4 separate regions of the Homo sapiens genome follow, and regions 1, 3 and 4 are each linked to region 2. The links are contacts of gene promoters, found by promoter capture Hi-C in human tissues and cell types (Jung and others, 2019). All regions are on one chromosome and are shown on one strand. The core of a region is centred on a gene start or on the middle of the fragment in contact, and the rest is flanking DNA. Distances in the headings are between cores, read along the strand shown.

Region 1 (3,037 bases), core at 270-2,769, 60 kb before region 2:
AGTTACTTACAAAACAATTTTGCTCGTAGAGATTTTAAATTCTGTCATTAAAAAGACCCACAAGCCTCTCAATTGCAAAGAAGTTAGCATCACCTTTTTTTTTTTACCAAATTCGAAAAAAGCAATAATCTAACTACAGAATAAACCATGGGCGGTACAGTACAAAAAATGTTCTTATGTTTTTAAAAGTTGTGCAGTCCATTGATCAGGCAGGCAGTGGTGGGGAGAACAAAGCCAAACACTGAATACACGTTTTGCTACAAAGAACCTAGTCTAATCAGTTCCATTTAGAAATGCACTTTTATTTGACTATATTTGCAAATCATCATTTTTTTTTCTCTAAAAATAATATGGAGTGTGGAAATGCTTTCCTATGCAGAAAGGTTTTTTTATTTATTTTGCTGAGTTTCAGGAAATGAAGCTTAGTTGCTACCTTGCATAGAAACACCAAACTATAGAATGCACAAATTTAGCACAGAGTCTGCCACGTATGGCAATTTTGATACCGCTACCTACAATTCACATTTACTGCATCCATCCAATTACACCCATGGTATCAATGCACAGCACTTAGAGCAGGCTGGCAGTTCACAAGAGTGCAACGGATGTCACGCAGTCTGCATATCAGTCAATCTGCTTCCTGATATGCTTTAAGAAAGCCTGTTCCTCAGACTCACCTGAAATGCAAAGAGAGAGGTGGAGGACGATGGCCCATGTTTCCTCTTGTGTACCTACACTGCAGTTCTTGTTGATGACCATCTAATGCAAACTGTCCCACAAATCTTTCAAAGAGAGTAAAGGTGAAGCCAGTCCCTATGTTAACAAACCTCAACCTTATTTCAGCAGATGGTAAACTTTGATTTTGTTTAAGAACCAAAGCTTCAACAGCTTCAGGAAAACATGTGTTTGTAATTCATCTCCATTTTAATGCCACCCTTGCATGGACGAGCTACATCTCCTGCTCCAGGTGAATGGGTTCTTACGTTCTGGACACTGTGTCTTCATTTCAGTTATTGATACCTAGAGTTGGTGAGTTTCAAGCCAATCTCTAAGTCAAGAGTTTATTTGGGAGTTGGGTTTCCTTTTGAAATATACTCCCTGGAGCCTCAGGCTGTTGCCTGTTCACCTGTTTCCTTTTCAGACCAAATCATGGAAAGGACCAGGTTATCTCTGATCCATTTGGGGTGTGTAAATATCAAGAAGGATAAGGTACCTTTCCTGGACTTGAGAACTTATAGCCTAATAAGAGAAGACAGGAATAAAAAAAGAAAAGTTTTAGTTGCTATGAGACTGGCATATAAAAGTACAGGGACAGGACAAAGAAAAAAATGGAAAATTATCAGAAATGGGTATAAAGATGGCTTCATAGAGGAGGTAAACTGTGTCTGAGAAATTAGAAAATGCCCAGAAAGACATCAAAGAGAAGGATAGGCTGAAAGGTGGAAGGCATAAATGCTGTTAAAAAAGGCAAAGAGTCATGAAATAGACAATGAATTTCTAGAAACTAGAAAACTGGACACAATGGGACAGGGCATGGAATACAATTAAGTGACCTCTGATTTAATGTTCAAGCTAGTATCAAAGGAGATGCTGTGAATTCTAATCTTGAAATAGCACACATAAACCAGAGCTGCCCCAGGCAAATTGTGACATATGGTCTCCCTAGGCATAAAGTTAATGGTATAGTCAGAAGGTTAATAACGTAGGAAATGAATTGAAATGGCTGCTCTGACACACACTACAAAGTTGGAACCTGATGCAATGTGGTAGGCAGAATTTTGTTCACTATGACTTTCACCCCCGGTGCCAGCTTTGTGATTATGTTATATGCATGGCAGAAGGGACTTGCAGTTGTAATTAATGTTGCTATTCACCTGACTTTAACAGAGGGAGGTGATCCTGGGTGGTCCAGGTGGGCCCAGTGTAATCACACGAGTCTGTACTAGCAGAAGCAGAAGGCAGACAGATAAGGGAAAGAGGCAGGACAGAGATATTTGAAGCCTGACAAGGACTTGACATGGTATTAATAGTTTTGAAGATGGCGGGGAACATAAGGAAGGGGGTACAGGTGGCCTCTAAAAGCTGATGATGACCTCTGGCCAACAGCTGTTGACCTGGAGAAGAATGTGTGTTAAACAAGTGTGGATGGTGATGATAATAATGAAGATGATTTTGCTTATATGCTGAGGAGACATCATGTTAGGAGTGATTACAGATAATGCAGCAAAAAAGGAGCAAAGTGTTGAGGTAGAGGTGAGAGAAGGGGTGAGCTCAAGAGGCAGGCAGGAATCCTTAGTCAGGCACAGTGGCTATACATTCCTTTTCATTTCTCCTTGGACTTGCAGATGCGAAACAGATTCCTTTTCTCAGATGCCCATTCATTAGGGGTGGCCATGTGACTGAATTCCAGCCATAAAGATCACATGTGGCATTTTAAGGCAGAAGCTTTTCCCTTCTCCCAGCAGAATGGAAAAGCTGAAGCAATAGGAGGAGATGCACCATACAATCGAAGGAAGCAGAGACCCTCAATATGGAACAACGAGAAACATCCCTGCAGTAATAGTTGAACAAAAACACACTCCCATTGTGTTGTGCCCTTTCTTGACATTTTAGACTGTTCATTTTCACAGCTGGACCACTGCAACCATCACACATGTGAGAAGAAGGTGGGTCTAGAAGGAAGAAAGTGAGGGAAGCTACAAATATTCATGTTTGTTAGTGGGGACCATGAAGGCGAGATAGATTTCAATTTCCTCGGCCGGGCATGGTGGCTCATGCCTGTAATTCCAGCACTTTGGGAGGCCAAGGCGGGCAAATCACCTGAGGTCAGGAGTTCAAGACCAGCCTGGTCTAACATGGTGAAACCCCATCTCAACTAAAAATACAAAAATTAGCCAAGTGTGGTGATGGGCACCTGTAATCCCAGCTACTTGGGAGGCTGAAGCAGGAGAATCTCTTGAACCTGGGAAGCGGAGGTTGCATTGAGCCAAGATCATGTCACTACACTCCAGGCTGGGTGACAGAGAGAGACTCCATC
Region 2 (3,038 bases), core at 435-2,934:
GATCACCTTCTAGGGGATTAAACATTAATGGGCTGGGTGTTGTGGCTGACACCTGTAATCCTAGCACTTGGGGAGGCCGAGGCGCTGCTGCACTCCAGCCTGGGCAACATAGTGAGACCCTGTCTCCAGAAAAAAAAAAAAAAAAGAAAAAGAATTAAACGTTGACAGATTATTAAGTGAGGCACTGTGTGAGACCTAGCTTGGGTTTGCGCCTATAGATATTTAAAAGTTGATCCAGGTTTTCACTTGAAAGCAGAACTACTGCCTTAAATTCCCACTTCACAAAAATAAATCATGGATTGAGGGAAAAATTTACTTGTTTGCTTTATAAAAAGAGATATCGATCTCTTCATAAGTTATATATGTTTTACAAGGTTGCACTGTTTGAACTGTAAGTGTGAATGGTTGCTAACACTCCAGAAACCAAGAGGTACATTTTAACTGGAAAAATTTTCTTCCTGTATCTTACAAATTAATTGAAGTTTGTCTACGCTTGAAAATATGTCAAAAGTATTATGTAGCTTTACCACAGTTTTATCTAACTTCTAGAAGAATTTAAATTCATATAAAGATAAAGAGTAACATACCAATAGAGTTTAGAGAGTTTTCAGATTTGCTCAGAAGAATGCTCCTTTGAAAACCTATGAAGTAGATTTTACCCAATGTATATCTGGATCTAAAAATTAAAGAAAATATCAGTCGTGTTCAGATTCCTTTATACCCTGCAGAAGAGAGAAAGAATAAGCAACATCAATGGAGCATATAACATGTATGGTTTAGCACTTTCATATTTTTAATCTTAACTATTCAGCCAAATACGTCTTATTTTTTTATTTTTATAGATGAAGATATTGAGGTTTGCATTTTTTTTTTATAAATTGCTCAGTCATACAGTTGGTAAATAGCTGACAGGAGAGTTCACTCCAGGTCTTACTGGCTCTCAAACCTTTGCTTTTTAAAAATCTCCAAACTAGCGCCTCTCCCTTTTAACTGCAAAATAAGCACAAAGTTATCCCAGTTCTACACAGTGCTAAACAAATTCCTGTGAGCAAACAATTAGCACAGGCAGATGGAGTGAGGGGGAGGTGGTTTATAACAATGGAAAGCTGTCTGCCTGCTGTGGATTAAAGATTCAAACTCTTTGATCCTCCTCCCAGGGATAGGTGAGGGCCTATGTCTCCTCCTCATTAACATGAGTGATCCTTGGCTAGGTTCTCCTTTGACTGACAGAATATGGGAGAAAGTAAGGCTGAACCATATACTGGGCTCAGGCTTCCAACCCTGACATGTTCCACTTCCTGTCTCCAGGAACATTCACCCTGGGAGCTCTGTGCTGCCATGCAAATGTCACATTGCACTGAGGCCGCCATGCTGTAAAAAACCCCAAGCTACCTACCTGAAAAGCTGGAGAGAATCAGCACCCATCAGCTTTTCCAGCATTTTGGGTCCTCCCAGCTAAATCATCGGCATTGTGAAGCAGAGATGAGACCTCCTGCCATGCCCTTTCCAAATCCTGGACCAACAGAATCATCATATACACTAGTAAGCTTTTACTTTAAGCCACTAATTTGGGGTGTAGCTCTTTTGCAGCAAAAGATCATCAGAACACTGCCATGCAGGAGCTGATAAACTTGCTCACTGTTATGTATGTATCCAATGACTACTCACACACACATTACTTGCTTCACTCTACTTTCTGGCTTTCCATTCAGCAAATTTTAAGAAATGAAAATGTTATTCGTGGGAAATTAACTCAAGATCAATATTGTTGTAGTTAATCTCTTTGTAAATGGTAAAATATTAAATTATTGTGAGTCATTTTTATTTAAAGAAGTTTGGTTCTTTAAATGAAAGAAGTTTGGGTCTTTTGTGGATACTCTGCATATAGACATTCTAGACATGAAAGAATGTTGAAGACAAAGAATGTTGAAGAAATATAGACATGAAAGACTGTTGAAGTTTGGTTTTTTGTGGATACTCTGCATATAGACATTCTAGACTGGAGTGATACATCTTGTTCAGGTTTCTATGTTTTTAAAATGATAACTTGACACGCCTACCAATGCCAATTTTTAGGATATATATTTGTATATCTGTGTGAACTAAGGAAAATTCAGGAATGATTAAACCTACATATTTTGCCAGGAGAGACTGGATAATGTAAGTCTTTATATTTTTCACAACTTCAAGTTTATAGCATCCAAATGAGCAATTGCTGACATACCTAGGGGATTTCTCTGCAGGTTCAAGTCTGATCTGGCCTGAGGGCAACACTCTTACTGAGTGTGTTCCTAGGCACTCCTTGGCAGTTGGCTCCAGGCCACAATAAAGAGCCCTGATGATTCTCTGAGCAGGCCCAACTTCCATTCACATTCATGGGAATATGAGGATGACTTGTGATCTTCAGGACTTAGATAGACTCTTTCAGTTGGTGTAGGGTAAGCTCAGCTCATCTCTAGAGACTTCCCACAGTGGAGCTCATGCATGACTCTGTGCAGGTGGCACAGGACAGCCAGAGACAGGCACCTAAGGAGTGCACTACCAGCAGGTGGACTCTCCACTGAGGGAGGTAGACAAGGGAGAAAGCCAGGTGTCCACATGGAGCAGGCCTTACTCAGGGAGACTGAGATTTTGCTCTACACATCATAAAACGTGGAGGTCATTAATGGAATTTTTCACAGGACATGACTGCCATAGCCATGATAGGGTCCCTGGCTAATCTTTCAATTATGATAGCATCATAAGATAATTTTGAATATGAGGAGAGAAGAATAACTCTAGAACTGCAATATCCAATATGGTAACCCCTAGCAACCTAAGGCTACTTAAACTAATTAAAATTAAAACTTTAGTTCCTCAGTGCCACTAGCCATATTTCAAGTACTCAATAACCACACACACTTGGCTACCATGTTGGACAGCACTGACATAGACCATTTCCATTACTGCAGAAAGTCCTCCTATTTGACAGTCCACCTCTGGAACCAATCCGGAGTCTTTAGGGACCTAAAAGACTGAGGTGCTAAATCTCAGAGCAG
Region 3 (3,044 bases), core at 361-2,860, 45 kb after region 2:
GTCTTATTCATTAATTCTTTGCCTAGGCCTATGTCCAGAAGAGTTTTTTCTAGGTTAACTTCTAGAAATTTATAGTTTCAGGTCTTAGATTTCAGTCTTTGATCCATCTTTAATGGATGTATGTATAAGTTGAGAGATCCAGTTTCTTTCTTCTACATGTGGCTAGCCAGTTTTCCCAGCACCATTTATTAAACAGTGGGTACTTTCCCCAATTTATGATTTTGTACGTTTTGTCAAAATTAAGTCAGTTGTAAGTATTTGGATTTATTCCTGGGTTCTCTATACTGTTCCTTTGGTGTATGTGTCTACTGTATACTGGTACCACGTTGTTTTGGAAACTATAGCCTTGTAGTATAGTTTCAAGTCCAGTAACGTGATGGCTCCAGATTTGTTCTTATTGCATAGAATTGCTCTTTTTCGGGCTCTTATTTTGGTTCCATATGAATTTTACGTTTTTAAAAAGTATTGTAAAAATGATATTGGTATTTTGATAGCAATTGCATTCAATTTGTAGATTGTTTTGGTCAGTATGGTCATTTTCATGATATTCATTCTTCCAACCCATGAGCATGGGATGTGATTCCATTTGTTTGTTTCATCTACAATTTTGTTCAGCAATATTTTGTAGTTCTCCTTGTATAGATCTTTCACCTCCTTGGTTAACTATATTACCAGGCATTTTATTTTTTTATTTTTGTATGTTTGCAGCTGTTGTGAAAGGGGTTGAGTTCTTAATTTGATTCTCAGCTTGGTTGTTGTTGGTGCATAGCAATGCTAATGATTTGTGTACAATGATTTTGTAAATTGAGAATTCACTAAATTTGGTTATCAAATCTAGGAGTCTTTCTTTATGATGTAAAAGAGAAGCAAAGGCCAATGGAGTGTCACCCTCTAAGCCTACCCTTACATCCCAGTTACGTTGCTAACTCAGAAAAATCAGCTGAAGGGCACTTGGAAATTCCCTACTCTGACCCAGATAGTCTTTTGATTAAAATCATATGGTTATTAGTTTTTATTTTCCAGATGGAATAAATGAAGACCAAAAGAATGTTTATGTGGAAACTGTGTTTCCCCAAACCCTTCTGCAGTAGTCTTTTCACTGCTGAAATCGTTGATATACTACCATTATAAACAAACACACTCTTTATTTGTTCACCTAACCTGCATGCCTTTATTCCTTAGAAGATTTTCAATATTTTATTTTAAAGCATACTGGAAAGAACAGAAGCATTAAAGAAAAAAAATAAATAAAGGGACTCCCCCCACCTCCACCAACACACACAGGTATCCTCTTTCTCAATTCATCAGTGAGGACGCTTGGTCAGTAAAGGAATTTCTCATGATCCCTCCTCCTTTCTCTACAGGGCATAGATTTGCACACGTGAAGCCAGGCTTCACATGACTGTATTCCATAATAGCACACCAAAAACACTGTCAAAATCAATGAAAACTTCACAATATAAAGAATATAGCTAGAATCATGGTAATGATCAGTTGATTGATATAATATTAGATAAGTGCAGGATGGTAACTTTTATAAACTAACTTTTCAAATGGCTCAGTGAATTGTCTAACATTCCATGGCAAATTTGTATGAAGACTACCTGGAACTCAGCTATCTACAATTTGGTTGGCAGGGGAACTAGGTTTGTGAGTTTGTTTCCCCCCTCTATGTTCTAATGCTCAGCAAACTGTGAAATTTTCCATGAAATATAATAGTTACGTAAATATAAAAAAGCAAAACTTTTTGGTATGTTAATTATTGCACCAACTTGTGTTGTTTGACTACTATTAACAATAAACTAAAACAATTCTACCTGCTTGATTGAAGCAAAAATGTCAATGTGTAAGGATGATGGGTAGATCACAAAATCAAAGAAACAGCTACATAGTCTGACTCAGACAGGACATGTCAAACAGCATCCCTGTAAGGAACTTAGTCTACAGACTCACATAGGCCCTGCCTCAGGAATAAATAAGCTGCACGTGTGTTTTGCTTCCTTGTATTCTTTGATGTCAGGGTCAGATACTGGGAAAGAGACTCAGGGCAAAAAAAGAGTATATTGATTGACAGCTTCCTCAAGACAGCCCACAATAGAAAAGACATTTCTTTTCAAAGAAACTGAGTATAATTGTCAAAAAAGAAAATAGATACTGGTCATCAAAGCAAGACCTTATACTTTGTCAAAGTTTACTTTAAATGTCACCTCCTCCAAAAAGCCATTTTCTCATTCCCCTAAATCATTCTCAGTATATCTCAGCTTTCATTAAACAAGCATGGGCCATGTATTTAAGAAAACAGAATTTACGGGAGGACAAGACAGACCAGACCTTAATTTCAGGGAACATAAATTTTGCCAAAGATGATATTGCCATACTACTATTTCTGTGATTCTCTTAGGATCCTGATGCCTTGTGTCTTAGTTATGTTTTTTCTTAATCAGAAGTTTAAAAAGTATATTATATTTTATTTTAAGTTCTGTGATACATGTGCAGGACATGAAGGTTTGTTACATAGGTAAGCATTTGCCATGGTGGTTTGCCACACTTATCAATCCATCACCTAGGTATTAAGCCCAGCATGCATTAGCTATTTATCCTGATGCTCTCCCTCCCCACAACCCCGAAATAGACCCCAGTGTGTTGTTTCCCTCCCTGTGTCCATATGTTTTTATTGTTCTGCTCCCACTTATAAGTGACAACATGTAGTATTTGGTTTTCTGTTTTTGTGTTAGTTTGCTGAGGATAATGGCTTCCAGTTCCATCCATGTCCCTGCAAAGGACATGATATCATTCCTTTTTATGGGTGCATAGTATTCCATGATGTATATGTACCACATTTTCTTTATCCAGTCTATCATTGATGGGTATCTGAGTTGATTCCATGTATTTGCTATGGTGAATAGTGCTGCAATGAACATATGTGTGCATATCTTAAACAAATTTGTAAGAAAAAAACAAACAACCCCATCAAAAAGTAGGCAAAGGACATGAACAGATACTTCTCAGAAGAAGACATTCATGCAGCCAACAAACAAGAAAAA
Region 4 (2,789 bases), core at 246-2,745, 41 kb before region 2:
TAAACCTGGAGAGCATTATGCTAAATAAAATAAGCCAGTTACAGAAGGACACATATTGCATGATTCCACTTATATGAAGTATCTAAAATAATAACGCTTATTCAAATACACGGTGGGATTTTTACTGGGAAAAACGCTCGCTCTTTTTAAAAAAAAATTGAGAGAGATTTGCTTTAGTTGATCAAAATTATAAGCTACCGGAAACTCCCCAAGATGGCATATTGTTGAAGCCATAGTGTGTGCACAGGTGTTGAATAGGCCCTTCAGAGATAAGAAGAGTAAAGTGTGGTATAAAAAAGAGAAAAAGTGCTAGAATGCAGTCATTGCAACATTAAAAGAAATGCTTTATCTTGGGGGAGATCCTTTGGCCAAACTATTTCAACTTGGAAAGATGTAGTAATATAAAAAGATTTCAATACAAGGAAATAAAGAAATTGCATCCGTGCTACTTCTCAAAAGAGTAAGAATTTAACTGATAAGGTTAATTATTATAAAATTAACTTTTACCATCTACATTAAAATTAGGAATTTTCTGAGAATTTGTATTCTTTTTGTCCTTTCAATAAAGGACTCAATATGTTTAACTCTATTTTAAACAGGAATGGCTGCCTATGTCTTGCAGTTTGAATGCAAGACCCTCAAATGCTCAGGAATTATCAAGTAAAGTTTATGTTAAGAAACTAGCATTCTGTTGAATCACTCAATAATGGTTATTATTTAGGATACGCAAAAGTTAATCACAAAAACTTAGACTGAAAGATACTGCTTACAATTATAGGTGGGAAATACCATAAAATACAACCTTTATTTATTTTGGAACTCGTTTTAATGCAGAATAATCCTAGCGCTCTATTTAGTAACAAGAAGAAACCAATTTAAATATCATGCTGATTTAAATAGTATAAATAATAAAAATGACAATTTTTTGTTAATTTTCAGACTCTACATAGCTATTTTTGTCTCTTCTATTCTTATGAAATATTCAGGGAAGATATTATTACTTTCACTTTACAAATGGGATAACTGAGAACTCAATAAATTGTATAATTTATCTCAAGACACAGAGCTGGTTCATGGTAGAGCTATCATCAGAAATCTCACGATTATTAGTTATCCCTTTCCAATTCTGAAGTCCTCTGGGAAGTGTCAGAATTTACACTCCTCACTAGGAACTACTATTGCAGTTGGAACTCTGAGGCTTTATTTGGGAGTTTTTCCTGATTACAGAAAATCTCTTCTTAAGAGAGGTTTTAATAAACAAAATAAGTCGGGGATATTACCAGATAGCCCCTATATCCTCAGAGCTCCCAGCATCACACCTTTTATAAGAACAGTATAGAAAAACAAAGTTCCTTCCCTCCTCCTGCCCTGTGTTATTTTTCCAAAAAACAAACAAACAAAAACCTAACTACACACTAAGTGTGAAAGTGATTGGAGTGGGGGAAGGCAAGCTGGGGCTGTACCAGGTCAAGGGTTGAAAAGAATTAGGGGATTATTACAGTTCTAGTTCGAAGACAAACACTTTTCAATGTATGTCAATGAACTTTATTGAACAGCCGCCATATACTAGTAACCCTCTTAGGTGTGTTGTACACTTACACATCGAAACCAGGGTTTCCCAGATTTCTTATGATGAAACAGATAGAAGGTGATAATGCTGGCACAGCACACATGGACAGTGTGACGGAAGGAGACCAATTAAGGACGAGCGGGTCCGTATTTCTACACACCTGCCACCAGCTGGACGGCTGTGCTGGAAGTCTAAGCCCTGGATGCTTAGCTGTGTGATCTGTGAACCGGCAGCATCAGCGTTCCCAGGGTGCTGGTTAGAAATACACCTCTCAGGCCCACCCAGACCTGCTGAATCAGAATCTGCTGTTTCCAAAATTCCCAAGTGATTCTCATGCACCTTAAAGCTTTAGAAACACTGTTCTAATTAGTGTTCTTAAAATATTGCTATGGGATACAGGCTTTAGTAAATTCTCAGGATATTCTACCATGTACTCAAGTTTGAGAAACAGGAGATTTAATAAATACTGATGTTTGGATCCCATCCATAGAGATTCTGTTTTGATTGGTGTAGGGTGTAATCTGGCATTAACATTTTTAAATTGCCCCTGGTGAGTTTCATGAATGGCAATGTTTGGGAACACCTGCTTTAAGTTAAGCCATGAGCTAATTGTTCTTCATCATATTGCAGATGTGGGAACTGAGACGTTATAAGGAAATCCAATTTGCGAGTGGTAGAGCCAGACTTAAGCTTAGACCCTTAACTCACTTATTCTCAAAACTGGTCTGTGCTGTTTATTATTTTACAGGAGAGTTCTATATTGCTATGTTTAATACATTAGTATCATTTAAATATATTTTAATATATGCCCGTGATGGATAATACTGAGTGTCCACTTGATTGGATTGAAGGATGCAAAGTATTGATGCTGTTGTGTCTTTGAAGGTGTTGCCAAAGGAGATTTGAGTCAGTGGGCTGGAATGGCAGACACACCCTTTATCTGGGTGGGCAGCAACTAAATCAGCTACCAGCTCGGCCGGGATATAAAGAAGGCAGAAAATCATGATGGTTAAGCAAACTAAATATGGCCTGAGAAGGACTCTGTACTTCTATAGGTGAGTCCTTGTGGATGAACTGTAACCTAGCTTAATAGTCAGACAAAATTTAAAACCTAATTTAATAGTATGCACTGTAACAATGGCTGAATGTTGCCCAGTCCCAGTGGGATTCAACCACTCATAGACTGCTTTTGTTCAAACTGCGTTCAAATAAGGCAAAC

What was found. The method cuts DNA at HindIII sites, captures the fragments that hold promoters and counts their contacts. A contact is called where the count stands out against the background at its distance.
Region 1: a fragment that was not itself captured here is called in contact with the fragment with the promoter of DAOA in region 2 in 2 of the 25 tissues and cell types used here (dorsolateral prefrontal cortex and mesenchymal stem cells).
Region 3: a fragment that was not itself captured here is called in contact with the fragment with the promoter of DAOA in region 2 in 2 of the 25 tissues and cell types used here (dorsolateral prefrontal cortex and small bowel).
Region 4: a contact is called between a fragment that was not itself captured here and the fragment with the promoter of DAOA in region 2, in 3 of the 25 tissues and cell types used here (dorsolateral prefrontal cortex, heart right ventricle and lymphoblastoid cells).

The regions. Positions count from the first base shown.
Region 1 is chr13:105,524,868-105,527,904 of GRCh38, reverse strand. No RefSeq gene overlaps it. Among named protein-coding and RNA genes, the nearest start is that of DAOA-AS1, 21 kb to the right of the region's middle. The HindIII fragment of the contact is 3,603 bases long and covers 1-3,037 here.
Region 2 is chr13:105,464,691-105,467,728 of GRCh38, reverse strand. It overlaps DAOA (D-amino acid oxidase activator), which reads right to left and starts at 1,684. Exons shown (of 6, transcript NM_172370.5): 1 at 1,669-1,684; 2 at 1,397-1,513; 3 at 588-676. The coding sequence starts at 1,440. DAOA-AS1 (DAOA antisense RNA 1) reads left to right here. Exons shown (of 7, transcript NR_040247.1): 5 at 1,309-1,542. The HindIII fragment of the contact is 13,308 bases long and covers 263-3,038 here.
Region 3 is chr13:105,419,299-105,422,342 of GRCh38, reverse strand. No RefSeq gene overlaps it. Among named protein-coding and RNA genes, the nearest start is that of DAOA, 45 kb to the left of the region's middle. The HindIII fragment of the contact is 6,564 bases long and covers 1-3,044 here.
Region 4 is chr13:105,505,631-105,508,419 of GRCh38, reverse strand. DAOA-AS1 (DAOA antisense RNA 1) reads left to right here and starts at 2,739. Exons shown (of 7, transcript NR_040247.1): 1 at 2,739-2,789. The HindIII fragment of the contact is 4,071 bases long and covers 1-2,789 here.